4 separate regions of the Homo sapiens genome follow, and all the other regions are linked to region 4. The links are contacts of gene promoters, found by promoter capture Hi-C in blood cells and fetal thymus (Javierre and others, 2016). All regions are on one chromosome and are shown on one strand. The core of a region is centred on a gene start or on the middle of the fragment in contact, and the rest is flanking DNA. Distances in the headings are between cores, read along the strand shown. Region 1 overlaps PRDM5 (PR/SET domain 5). Region 2 has its middle 22 kb from the start of NDNF. Region 3 overlaps NDNF (neuron derived neurotrophic factor). Region 4 holds the start of PRDM5 (PR/SET domain 5).

Region 1 (2,700 bases), core at 86-2,585, 210 kb after region 4:
TGTTTTCTTTCATTGCCTACAAGTTTCCCTTTCTCAATTTCAGTAGAGTCAGCTATCACGGTCATGAAAGAGAACTATTAAGCATCATTCTATGATTTTGTGACACCTTTACCTTGGCCTCTGACTATAAGAGAAAGAGCTCACTGATTTTATTTTCCATTTTATTTGATTGTGGTCTAATGTAAACCATAGACAGCAACCACAGGAAATCTTTGGATTATGTACCTACTGTATGTGGATCATCCACCTGTGATCCATTCTGGGATGGATCCATCCAGGGATCCGAGGTTGACCCATCCTTATCCTTGGTAGCCTGTCTGATGGGGTCATACCTCTAATCTTTTAGTCAGGAATTCTTAGCTCAACTAAAAGAAAGCTTCTAATCAATTTCTATTTCTAAAGACTTCATGTTCAGAGTCCTCCAAAGTATATCTAAAATTTAACTTTGTTTCTGTAGAACCCTCTCAGATGATGTTGAGATTTATTAATTCAGTTTATCTTATCAAAAAAATGTAACATTTGAAGATACTGTTCTTTTATATAGGTGGGCATTAACTACACAAAATACGACTTTTTATTACCTAGATTACAAGGTGCAGCACATAGAGCTGTGTAAATCCTACCTTTTGAATGAAATCTGCCAAGTATTGTTTGATTAAAGCTAGACTGATGAGACTCCTGATTAATTCTGCCTCTAATAGATTACACAGTTTAACTGACAAATACATTGCCTCCATTTAGTAATGATTCCCAAGTTGTGATGACAAAGGACAAGCTATTTGTCAGTTAAACTATGTAATCATTCAGAAACAGAATTAATCAAGAACCTAATCATTCTTTCTCTACTGAAATTCAGCTAATGAGTTAAAGTGTATAATTTATACTACATATTCCACTCAGGAAGGCTCTAGAGGCAATGAAGTTTTTTTTTTTTTTTTTCACAATGTTCAAAGAAAGGAGCAGGAACAGAAGTCAGTGCCTCTCCAATCTTATCCCCTGTACCACTCAGCCTGTTCTTCTAACTGTGTTGACCATGTTCTGATTGGTATTTCTTTGGCATGGCTTATTAGGGGTAATGAAAAGAAATTAGTAAGGGAGGGTCTATGTGAGGGTTTACTCTCTGAGAAAGAAAATGCGTTTATTTTCTTCTATTTTGGTTTATTTGGTTCTCTTAACTTTAGAGGTGAGTGGCCTATGACCTCTTGGCTCTGCCTCTAGTATAAGAGCCATTTACTAGAGCAAGAATTCTCTAAGACTTGCTTTGATGACATTCACTATAAATTGGAATCCTTTTCCATGGTAGGCATTAGAAGTTCCTTCAAGGAGCACTATAGACAGTCTGACTAGTATCTGCCATGAATTATATATCTTCTTGTGATATCTTCAGGAATAGTGCAGGCTCTGTGTAAGATCTGGGATGAAGAAGAGAGGCATTTGAAGGACAAACACAGCTGCCTGTTGATATACTTAGTTATGACAGAGAGCCTTTCTTGCCAGACTAACATAGAAGTATGCTCGTGGGGCCTTCATGTGCTTCTCTTAGGGCAAAACCCCAAAGACTCCCTGGCTTTAAATGGTTCTAGGTAGAGAAGAGGGAGTCCAGGCAGATTGAAAACTACTTAATCAAATGGATTTCTCTTCAAACTTCTTTAATTGGAAGAACCTTTCTAACACTACACATTTTATCCTTTACTTTTCTGCCAACATGCATATATAAATACATGGTTGTTGTACTTGTAGTATATTGTGAAGGAGAAAATAAGGAAAGGTAATATAATTTCAACGACATTTGTAAGTGAAGTATATTAAATTAATCAGCAATAGCATGTATAAACATGTGAAAAATATCAGTATGTGAGTGGATAATGTGTGTGTGTAAGTATATAAGACATTATTCAGCTAAAGCAATGATTAATACGTGTTTGCATTTTTAAACCTCTTGTGATAACTGCAAAGCCCTCATGCCTCACCAGAATCTCAGTATACTAGCAGGGAGTCAGTCTTTTAAGCATCTGTATGAGCAATGTCTAGGATACTCACCCAGATAGTGTCTCCTAAGAGGAAATTTGGGAAGGAGTAAAAGGGTTGTTCTTAATCTTTGGTGCCCAGGTCTTGATTTTCATTGCCTTTTCTTCCCTGATACCTCTTCTTGCTCTTAGGGTGGCATTTTGACAGTTCTGTCTTAGGATGTTCTCTGCAAAACCCTCACCTGTCATTGGCAGCTGCCATGGTGCCATGCCCATCATGTCTTCACAACTTCTGGTCTTACAAGTAAAGTGTAGGGATTAAGCTTTTTGTTTCTTCTCATATACTTCATAATAATGTCTTTGTATGTTTTTTTAAAATAAAAGTTTAAGTAGAATATTTGGATATAATACAAGCCTTAATAAGAAATCCCAGCAACTTCAAACAAATTCTGATCCAAATACTTAAAACTACCTTTTCATTTTCAAGTTTTTGAAAAACTGTGGAATATTTGAAGAAATATTTGAAGTTGTGAAAAGACATTATGTTTATTCAGACTAGAGGGGAAAGCACATTATATTTTTTGGACTGCAAAGAAAATTGAACATTTTTCCTGATGACTGGGGAAGACTCATTAAACATATTTTTTTACATCTTTAAAATTACACACATAGTTACTTTCATTTCTGGCAACATGGTAGATACTCCATATCCCGGAAAAAAGGCCCTATAAGG
Region 2 (2,700 bases), core at 28-2,527, 170 kb before region 4:
AAAGGGAAATCAATCAGCCCCCTCTGCAAGCTCTTTGAGGTAATAATTGGAAATATCAAAGAGTATGTATTTCATAAAGCAAGGCTGAGTCATCATGATGCCATTGAAAATACTGTAGTTCTTTTTTCTCTATAAAAGCTGTGGGACATTTTAAAATTAAATTGGAATAGCAGTAATACTTTCTTAAAGTTTTTTCTAAGCTCTCACAATTGACAAAAAAAAATCTTTTTATAAAGTTTTGAGAGTAAATGGTTTGTTTTTTTACATATTTCCTTAGTATTATTTCCTAAGTATATTAACTTAGTAAAAGTTAGCAAGTAAAGGAAGGTTTTCAAAAACTAACATAACAATTTTCTATTCCTCCTTTAAATCATTCAAAAAAAATGAAGTTTCAAACGTTGTTTTGATTTAATATTATATTATGTAGAAATACAAAGGCAGTTCACGCTTTGTAAATTGTATTTAGAAAATTGTGTACTTTGACAAGTCTAGAAGTTCATTTTCCCGTCGTAAAGCTAGACAACTAAATTGGCCTACTAAAGGACTGTGAACCAGTTTGTTATATAAATGAGAACATGTTGTTGATGTTTGACATAAACAGCAGAGGTGCAACTGAAGTCAGCCTGCTCACATAATTAAGTAGTCAATGCAAGACTACGTAAACCCTTGATTCCAGTGTTAGAATGACTGTCTGTGTGTTTCTTTGTTCACCCATCCAACTAGCCCTATATTTATTAATCAATATTTATCGAATGCCGAGTATACTTTTGGAGCAGTCAAGGTTTTCCGTGCCTTTATATTTGTGTGCTGTCAAACCTTTCTAATTTGATTCCCAAATGCTCCATTTTTTAAACATTATAAAAAATTCTTCTGTAACTTCTTTCTGCCTGCTGAAAACAAGGCCAAACTCTTTGGCCTGATATGCATGGCTTTCCTCAATAAAGCTCCAACTTATATTTTGAGATTTATTGGCTATTATTTTACATATCTTCCATTTCATTCAAATCTTATCTACTCACCATTTTCTGCACACCTTCACTTTACTGATATGTTTCCTTTGCTGAAAGTACTCTCGTGCTATACTATGGCCTACACCTCCAAATTCTTCACATATTTCAAGACACATCTCAGTTTTTCACTTCCTTATGCAATTCTACTTCACCCCAATCAGAAACAACCTTTCCAGTCTCTGAGGTACCAGTCACTGCCTTTGACTTATAAGTTTCTTACATTATTTATTACTTTGACCTGAATAGTGGAATTATTTGCTTGTGTTGTTTTTTGTCTCTCTCTCAAACTGAAAGAAGACTGGGATCCTGTAATACTCATCTTTGCATCTCAAAACTCTTATCACACTACCTCCTGTTACCCAACCTGTGACTGGACTATCATCACTACTTCCTTCTCTTTTTCTGGCAAAGGCTAAGGCTTCCATCAGTGCTGTACCTCAAATCTTCCTTCCTACATCCTTAAAAATCTCCTCCCACTGACTATCCTCTTATTCATCATTGGCTTCTGCCCATTAGCGTATTAACATGCTCAAGTCCTTTTTGCCCTAATACAGTCTAGCACCATCTTTCTCGACTCTCTTTAATAGCTAACCTCTTGAAAGTGTTTTCTACACATGCTGTCACCACAGCCACAGCTTTCACTAACTTCTCATCCTTATGTAATCTGCCTTTTACCTCCATGACCTAGGTGAAACTGTTCCCACAAAGGACACCAATGACCTCCTGCTTGCTAAATCCAATGACCGTTTTGGGGTTTTCTTGTTTTTGACACAGGGTCTCATTCTGTCACCCAGGCTGGAATGCAGTGGTGTGATCACAACTCACTGCAGCCTCGACTTCCTGTGCTTAGGTGATCCTCCCACCTTAGCCTCCCAAGTAGCTGGGATTACAGGTGCACACTACCACGCCTAGCCAATTTTTTGTATTTTTAGTAGAGAGGAGGTTTCACCATGTTGCCCAGGCTGGTGTCAAACTCCTGGTCTCAATCTGCCTGCCACCTCGACCTCTCAAAATGCTGGGATTACAGGGGTAAGGCAATACACCTGGCCCACTTCTTAAATCTTTCCTTATTTGGGCTCTCTACATCACCTAACACTATTTATCATTCTTCCCTCTTTAAGTCACTCTCTTCCCTTGAAGCAATTCTCCTGCCTCAGCCTCCCTAATAGCTGGGATTAGAGGCATGGGCCACCACACTCGGCTAATTTTTGTATTTTTAGTAGGGATGGGGTTTCTCCATATTGGCCAGGGTGGTCTGGAACTCCTGGCCTCAAGTGATCTGCCCACCTCAGCCTCCCAGAGTGCTGGGATTACAGTACCATGCTGGGCCTGGTACTTATTCTTACATTTCTTTCTGGATGGCCCATATGCACCCAAGTACAATGTGTCCCAAACCAAACTCATCACATTTCCTCTTTTAACCTAAATTCATTTCCTATTTTTTGTTCCTCATCACATTGAAAGGCAGTACTATTCATCAAGTTTCCCAAGTCAGAAACCAGAGTATCTTCCCTGGATTATCTCTCTCCCTTATGTTACATATTTTAATCAAATACTGAACCCTGCCACTTCTATCATCTACAAAGCTTTTGAATGTGCTCCCTCTGCTCCAATGTCTGTCCCACTGCCCTGGTTAAGACTATCATAATTTCCCACCTGGATTTCTGTCATGGCCTTGTAAATTGTCACT
Region 3 (2,700 bases), core at 76-2,575, 130 kb before region 4:
GTCATTCAGATGACAGCATAAATGTCATCTCCTCAAGGAAAACTTCTCTAAATACTCAATCTAAAATGCCCATCACCACACTGTCTTTCACAGAAGCCTATTTTAATTTTTAGCATAGCTAGCAGCAATAGTATTTTCTTGTGTATCTGTTTATGTGTTGCCTGTCACTCCCACTAGAACACTCACTTCCTGAGGTCACCACTGTTCCTAGAAGAGTACCTGGCATGTAGCAAAAATGTATTATATAGATATTGAATTAAAAAAATAATGAATGAGTAGAAATGCTGACATTGGACTCTGTTGGCTGGGCAGGTACATTTTGCCCCATAAATAGATTCTAAGTTCCTAAGATACATATTTTTTCAGACCTCACATTACCCAGTTGAGTTTGGAGTATGACATCGATATTTGACAAAACTCTTATTCTCTTCATTTTTTGCTCTTTTGGCCATATTTAGGTTTTGGTATCCTAAGAAATCCATGGAGTGACTTACTGAAGAGTTAACTTCTTGGATAAATGGCTATAAAAAATCAAATTTTTATGGTGCTACACACTGCAGTGACTCAATATTTTTTTATTGACCACAACAATTCATGCCTCACCTTCCAGGCTGATACGTGCTGTTGCTGAATGCTACTGGCGCGCTGCCATGCTCCATCTTAGCTAAATTTCAGTAGAGAATGAGGTATGCAGTTTGTAAACTGCTTTGGGGAATGTTGCACAGGAAGTCATTTTCATTTGGTTGCAGATCAACAGGAAATAAGGCTTAGTTGCCAAACAAAAGCAAGAAAAGCAACCAAGCATATTATTCCTTCCTTTGGGGCTTTCATTATTCTAAGAATCATTAGCATCACCTAAGACAGTGGAAGTTATCCCAGCTATCTCAGTTTCACATATAGAGGACATTTTGATAGGAAGAAGGTATTTAGTATTCTGTTCCAGTTTTTCTTTGCATTCTCCCATACACTGCTTTTGAACTTTGTCATATCTTCTAACCATCCATCTGATACATTTTAAGAGTTCTACTCCTTTCTTTACTAAAATGGGTCTGGCTTCCTGAATTACAGACTACTCCTATCTATGAGACATTTATTTCGGCCAGTTCTGTTATTCATTATTCTTCTCATTGGCATTAATATTGATGGGAATACAAGATTACTTACTTTAAAATCTGATCCTCTTTGAAGTAATTCTGATTGTGTAGGCTTGGCCATCTTTTAAATTAGAATGCCCTAACGTTATCCCTGTTAGGAACTCTGCATCATGAGACTCAGAGGGAGCGCATGACAGAATGGAAACTTTATTCGAATCCTTGGCATGTTTTAATTTCACATTGCTTTTTTATATTAATTTAATTTCCTTCCAGAAGGAAAGTTGGCAGTCATTTAGAGAAGTGCTAAGGGAGGTTGGAATCATTGCAGTTGAAATGCATGTGCAGGTCCCTAATCTGTAGATTATTGACATAATGAACTCTAAAACTCTTAATAATCATGTCACTGTGTACTGACAGCCTGCATTTAGAGAGCTTTAGTGCACGAGTTCTGTACATAATGTCGGCTCTACTTCATTGGGTTGGGTAGAAGTTGGCATGTTATCGCAGAGTGAGAGCTCACCTAGCATGTGCCAGAGACCACTCGTCAGGGCAGACCAGGAATCCTTTACTTCCATCTGCTTTATTTCTCCCTTTTCAGGTATGGAAATGTCAGCCCATAATATGCTGTATTTCCTTCAAATTTTTAACAGATTTGGATTTTTAAGAACAACTAACTTCAGACATTTTCATTGTTTGCAAAAGAAAACAAAATAAAACACCTTTTGGGAATTCAACTTTTGATTGCTGCATTTTTGCCTCGAAGGAATCCGTACATCCACGCTGGCACATGTTGGACATTCAGTATTAAAGTGTGCAGTCCTCTTCGCTTGCTGCCCAGCAAGTCATGGCAGACACACGGCTCTTCCCCTAACTAAAGCTATATATTTTTTTCTTACACCTGGACCAAATGCTTCAGATTTATTATCAAATGTGACATGGATGATTCAAACAAAAACAAATGCTCTTGAGTTTGAAAATAGAAATTTAAAAGACTAAATATTTGCATTTAGAAAGGAAAAGAAAATAACAGAAATCTCTGTGGCAGACCATTCCTTGAAATTATTCTCGCCAAATTATAATCATGCACTTTCCACTCTCTTTAATTAAACATTAGATTTCATTTATTCTCTATACATTTGCTTCAAGTAAATCAGAATGCCCATCCTTTTTTGTCATTGTAAATGTATTTCAACTTCGTGGCCTGCACATGATCAGGCACATTAGATAATTTTTAAGCGAATCTCAGTGATACTATATATTTTTTCAAATTTTATACTTTATGTTATATTTATAGTGATGAATCTGATCTTAAATTTTATAATATGTAAAGTGTGTAAGAGCTTGATGACATTTTTCACAACTACATTTATACATTTCTGCAAAGAACTTGTTGGTGATAGAGGGATGGAGGAATTTGTTTTGATCATATTATCACAGGTAGGTAAAGCTGTTGGCTGCTGTTCTGAGGAAGCTACAGTGATGAGAAAGGTCACAGTGCATTAATTTATATCACGTCTTCTATTTTGAGAGCCTTGGACCTTTACATGAAAGCCCAAAAGAACTTTCTATCTACCAGATTTGCAATTGTTTGAATTGCTCAGATAAT
Region 4 (2,700 bases), core at 188-2,687:
TTTCTTAGAAAGAGGATCATGTCATCATTTACTGTGTTCCTTAAAGTCTCCGAATATTGCCACTACATGATTTTTTTTTCCCATAATGCCTTTTGTTCTTGTTTTTTAAACCTTTTTCCAAACTTGAATCAAAATCTACATAGGGGCCGGGTGTGGTAGCTCAAGTGTGTAATCCCAGCACTTCAGGAGGCCAACGCCGCCGGAGGATCCCTTAAGCCCAGGAGTTCAAGATCAACCTGGGAGACATAGCTAGACCCTGTCAAAAAAAAAAAAAAAAAAAAATCTGCTTAGGAACTATGTTCCAAGGGTTTCCTGCAGAAACAGGAATCGTTTCCATGGTGTGTGTGTGTAGTCTGTAATTTTGTCAAACTTTTGTGTGTGCTTTTAATGGTTTATGAGAACATCAATTAAGAACATCAAATGGTTTCCGAGAAAAGACCCTAGAGTAGAAAATTACCATAAATATCAAGAGAAATGAGTAGATGACCCCAGGATCACTTTGAAGGATGAAACAGGCTTTTAAAGGTCCTGGGCACACTGCACAGCCTAACAGCTTATTAAAAACACTAAAACAAGACTTGTGACTTTATTGCATTGTTGTGACACCAGATGCTATTGTTTGGGTGTCCCCTCCTGTCTCCCACAAATCCACTTCCGTATGTCTGAAAATCCGTAATACGTCTAATGATTATCAAGCAAGGGAGGTCTCAGGAATATTGTACCTTGAGAAGTATAAGAACTTCCCAGAGGTTATGTTACCATAAAATATCTAGTTTCTAGTGCTTAAAACATTAAATTGTTTGCAACATATTTTTCCGTACGTTAATCAACATACTTTGCGATCCCTTATTAAGTTCTAGCCTCTGCAACAAACGTGAAAAAAAGCAAAGACGCATAACTCAAATGTGAGAAGCACGGAAATTTCCTAGACCGCAGGGTTCGTTCTCAGTAGTCGGCAATAAGCTGGCTTTCAGAGTCAGGAACTTGATAAAGTTGTTTTGGAGGATGCCCCAGCTGTGTGAAGGTCCATTTCGTTTTGCATCTGAAGAGAAGCAAGCGAGACTCCCCTACAGGGAGTAATGGTTCAGCGGGGCAAGGTTTGAAAACCCAGAGCTGGACAAAGGCGGGAACGCACGCCGCCGCGCCGGGGCTAGGGGTGCTGACGGCCCGCGCAGCTCGCGGGCCTCCGGGTTTGAGGCCCTGGGGTCAGCCCTGCTCCGGGCTTCGCGCCCGGGCGCGGGTCAGAGCCGCCAACTTCGGGCCAATCAGCGAGCGGCGTCCCGGCGCCCGCAGCGCCCAGGCCCGCGCCCCCCGCGCCCCCGCAGCAGGAATGGCAGGAACGGATCCGGGCCGAGCCCGACCCGGGACGAGGAGGGGCTGAGCCGCGGGGGATCCTGGAATCGGCAGGGAGGTGGGGATTCTGGGAGGAAAACTCCATTTCCTCCTTCCCTGCCGGTTTCTCCCCTCTACCCTGGCACCCCAAATTTCGATGTGCCGCCTGCCGGGCGCTAAGCGCCGGTGTTGAGAGAGGCGGCGGCCGCCGCGCCCGGGAAAATGCTGGGCATGTACGTGCCGGACAGGTTCTCCCTGAAGTCCTCCCGGGTTCAGGACGGCATGGGGCTCTACACGGCCCGCAGAGTGCGAAAGGTGGGTGACCCGGCGGCGGCCTGCGCGCCCCTGCACCTCGCGCGCCCTGTGCCTCCCGGAGTCGCCCTGCCGCAGGGCCCGGGGCGCGGCGGGCTTCACCCCGGTCGCCCCTCGCCCGGGCCGGGCCAGGCGTCCGTGGGAAGGCCGGGGACCGCGGGGCACGGCGGGGGTGGCCTTTACTCGCTGCGCCACCCGAGCAGGCAGCGCCACGTAGGTGGCGGCGGGGTGCGCTCCGCTGCCGGCCGGTCCAGGGGCGGAACTGCCACCGGCCTCCCTGCCGCAAGATGTCTTTCCTCTCTCCCGCAGGAAGTGAGCGCGGCGGGAGCCTCCCTCTTCCTCGGTTACGGGTGTGAGCTGCGTCTTTGCGTTGGCGAAGGCACGCGTGGGCGGGTGTTTTCCCCCGCGCGCACGCTGCTCCGCTGTCGCCTCTTTTCCTTTAGGATGAATTAATGTGGCTAGAAACGCCTAACTTTCCATGCGGGGATGGGAGGAGCAGCCCAGAGCGCCGCTCCACGCAGGCCGTAGAATCTCATTCATACGCCCAGGATTTCCTTCCCTCCTTCTGGAATGTATTATATGTGCCTTCAGGGAGGTGCCAACCAGATGATCTTTGAGTGTCTATACCTTTTTTCTCCGCTCTTTTTTTTTTTAATTTGTCTCCAACATCGGTTCGATCTCTCCAGCCAGAAAGTTACAGGCATGTGATGAGAGGAAGCACATTGCTCAGTTCGTACAGGAAGGGCCTGAAAGTGTTGGATGTTGAAAGCAAAGGCCTAGGAAGAGAGGCCACAGGAAAAGTCCAGCTCTTTGGATTTGATCTTATAATATTATAACTTGTTAGAGTCGTCCTAGCCGTCCTCGCCCCCTTTTCTTAGTAGATATTTTGTAAGATGGAGGTTTGGGCAAGAACAGGCTTGTTCAGGTAAGGTATGTTAACAAGAGGTTCAGAGGATGCAGTAGAGACACTAGGGTGCCTTTCATCTGCATATAACCCTCTCCCCTTTGCCTCTGACCTAAAGAGCTGGTGAAGAGTAGTAGAAAGTGCTAGTAATC

Evidence for each region. The method cuts DNA at HindIII sites, captures the fragments that hold promoters and counts their contacts. A CHiCAGO score of 5 or more calls a contact.
Region 1: a contact is called between a fragment that was not itself captured here and the fragment with the promoter of PRDM5 in region 4, in 2 of 17 cell types (megakaryocytes and erythroblasts). The highest score is 6.4, in megakaryocytes.
Region 2: a contact is called between a fragment that was not itself captured here and the fragment with the promoter of PRDM5 in region 4, in 1 of 17 cell types (naive CD8 T cells). The highest score is 5.2, in naive CD8 T cells.
Region 3: a fragment that was not itself captured here is called in contact with the fragment with the promoter of PRDM5 in region 4 in 1 of 17 cell types (naive CD8 T cells); the score reaches 6.6 in naive CD8 T cells.

Annotation. Positions count from the first base shown.
Region 1 is chr4:120,715,302-120,718,001 of GRCh38, reverse strand. All of the region lies in intron 14 of PRDM5 (PR/SET domain 5), which reads left to right. Among named protein-coding and RNA genes, the nearest start is that of PRDM5, 210 kb to the left of the region's middle. The HindIII fragment of the contact is 1,914 bases long and covers 379-2,292 here.
Region 2 is chr4:121,093,199-121,095,898 of GRCh38, reverse strand. No RefSeq gene overlaps it. Among named protein-coding and RNA genes, the nearest start is that of NDNF, 22 kb to the right of the region's middle. The HindIII fragment of the contact is 2,642 bases long and covers 1-2,598 here.
Region 3 is chr4:121,051,898-121,054,597 of GRCh38, reverse strand. The region is part of intron 1 of NDNF (neuron derived neurotrophic factor); the gene reads left to right. Among named protein-coding and RNA genes, the nearest start is that of NDNF-AS1, 18 kb to the left of the region's middle. The HindIII fragment of the contact is 2,827 bases long and covers 1-2,700 here.
Region 4 is chr4:120,921,463-120,924,162 of GRCh38, reverse strand. PRDM5 (PR/SET domain 5) reads left to right here and starts at 1,437. Exons shown (of 16, transcript NM_018699.4): 1 at 1,437-1,647. The coding sequence starts at 1,555. It overlaps LOC105377399 (a long non-coding RNA gene), which reads right to left and starts at 1,227. Exons shown (of 2, transcript XR_001741804.2): 1 at 836-1,227. The HindIII fragment of the contact is 4,297 bases long and covers 1-2,700 here.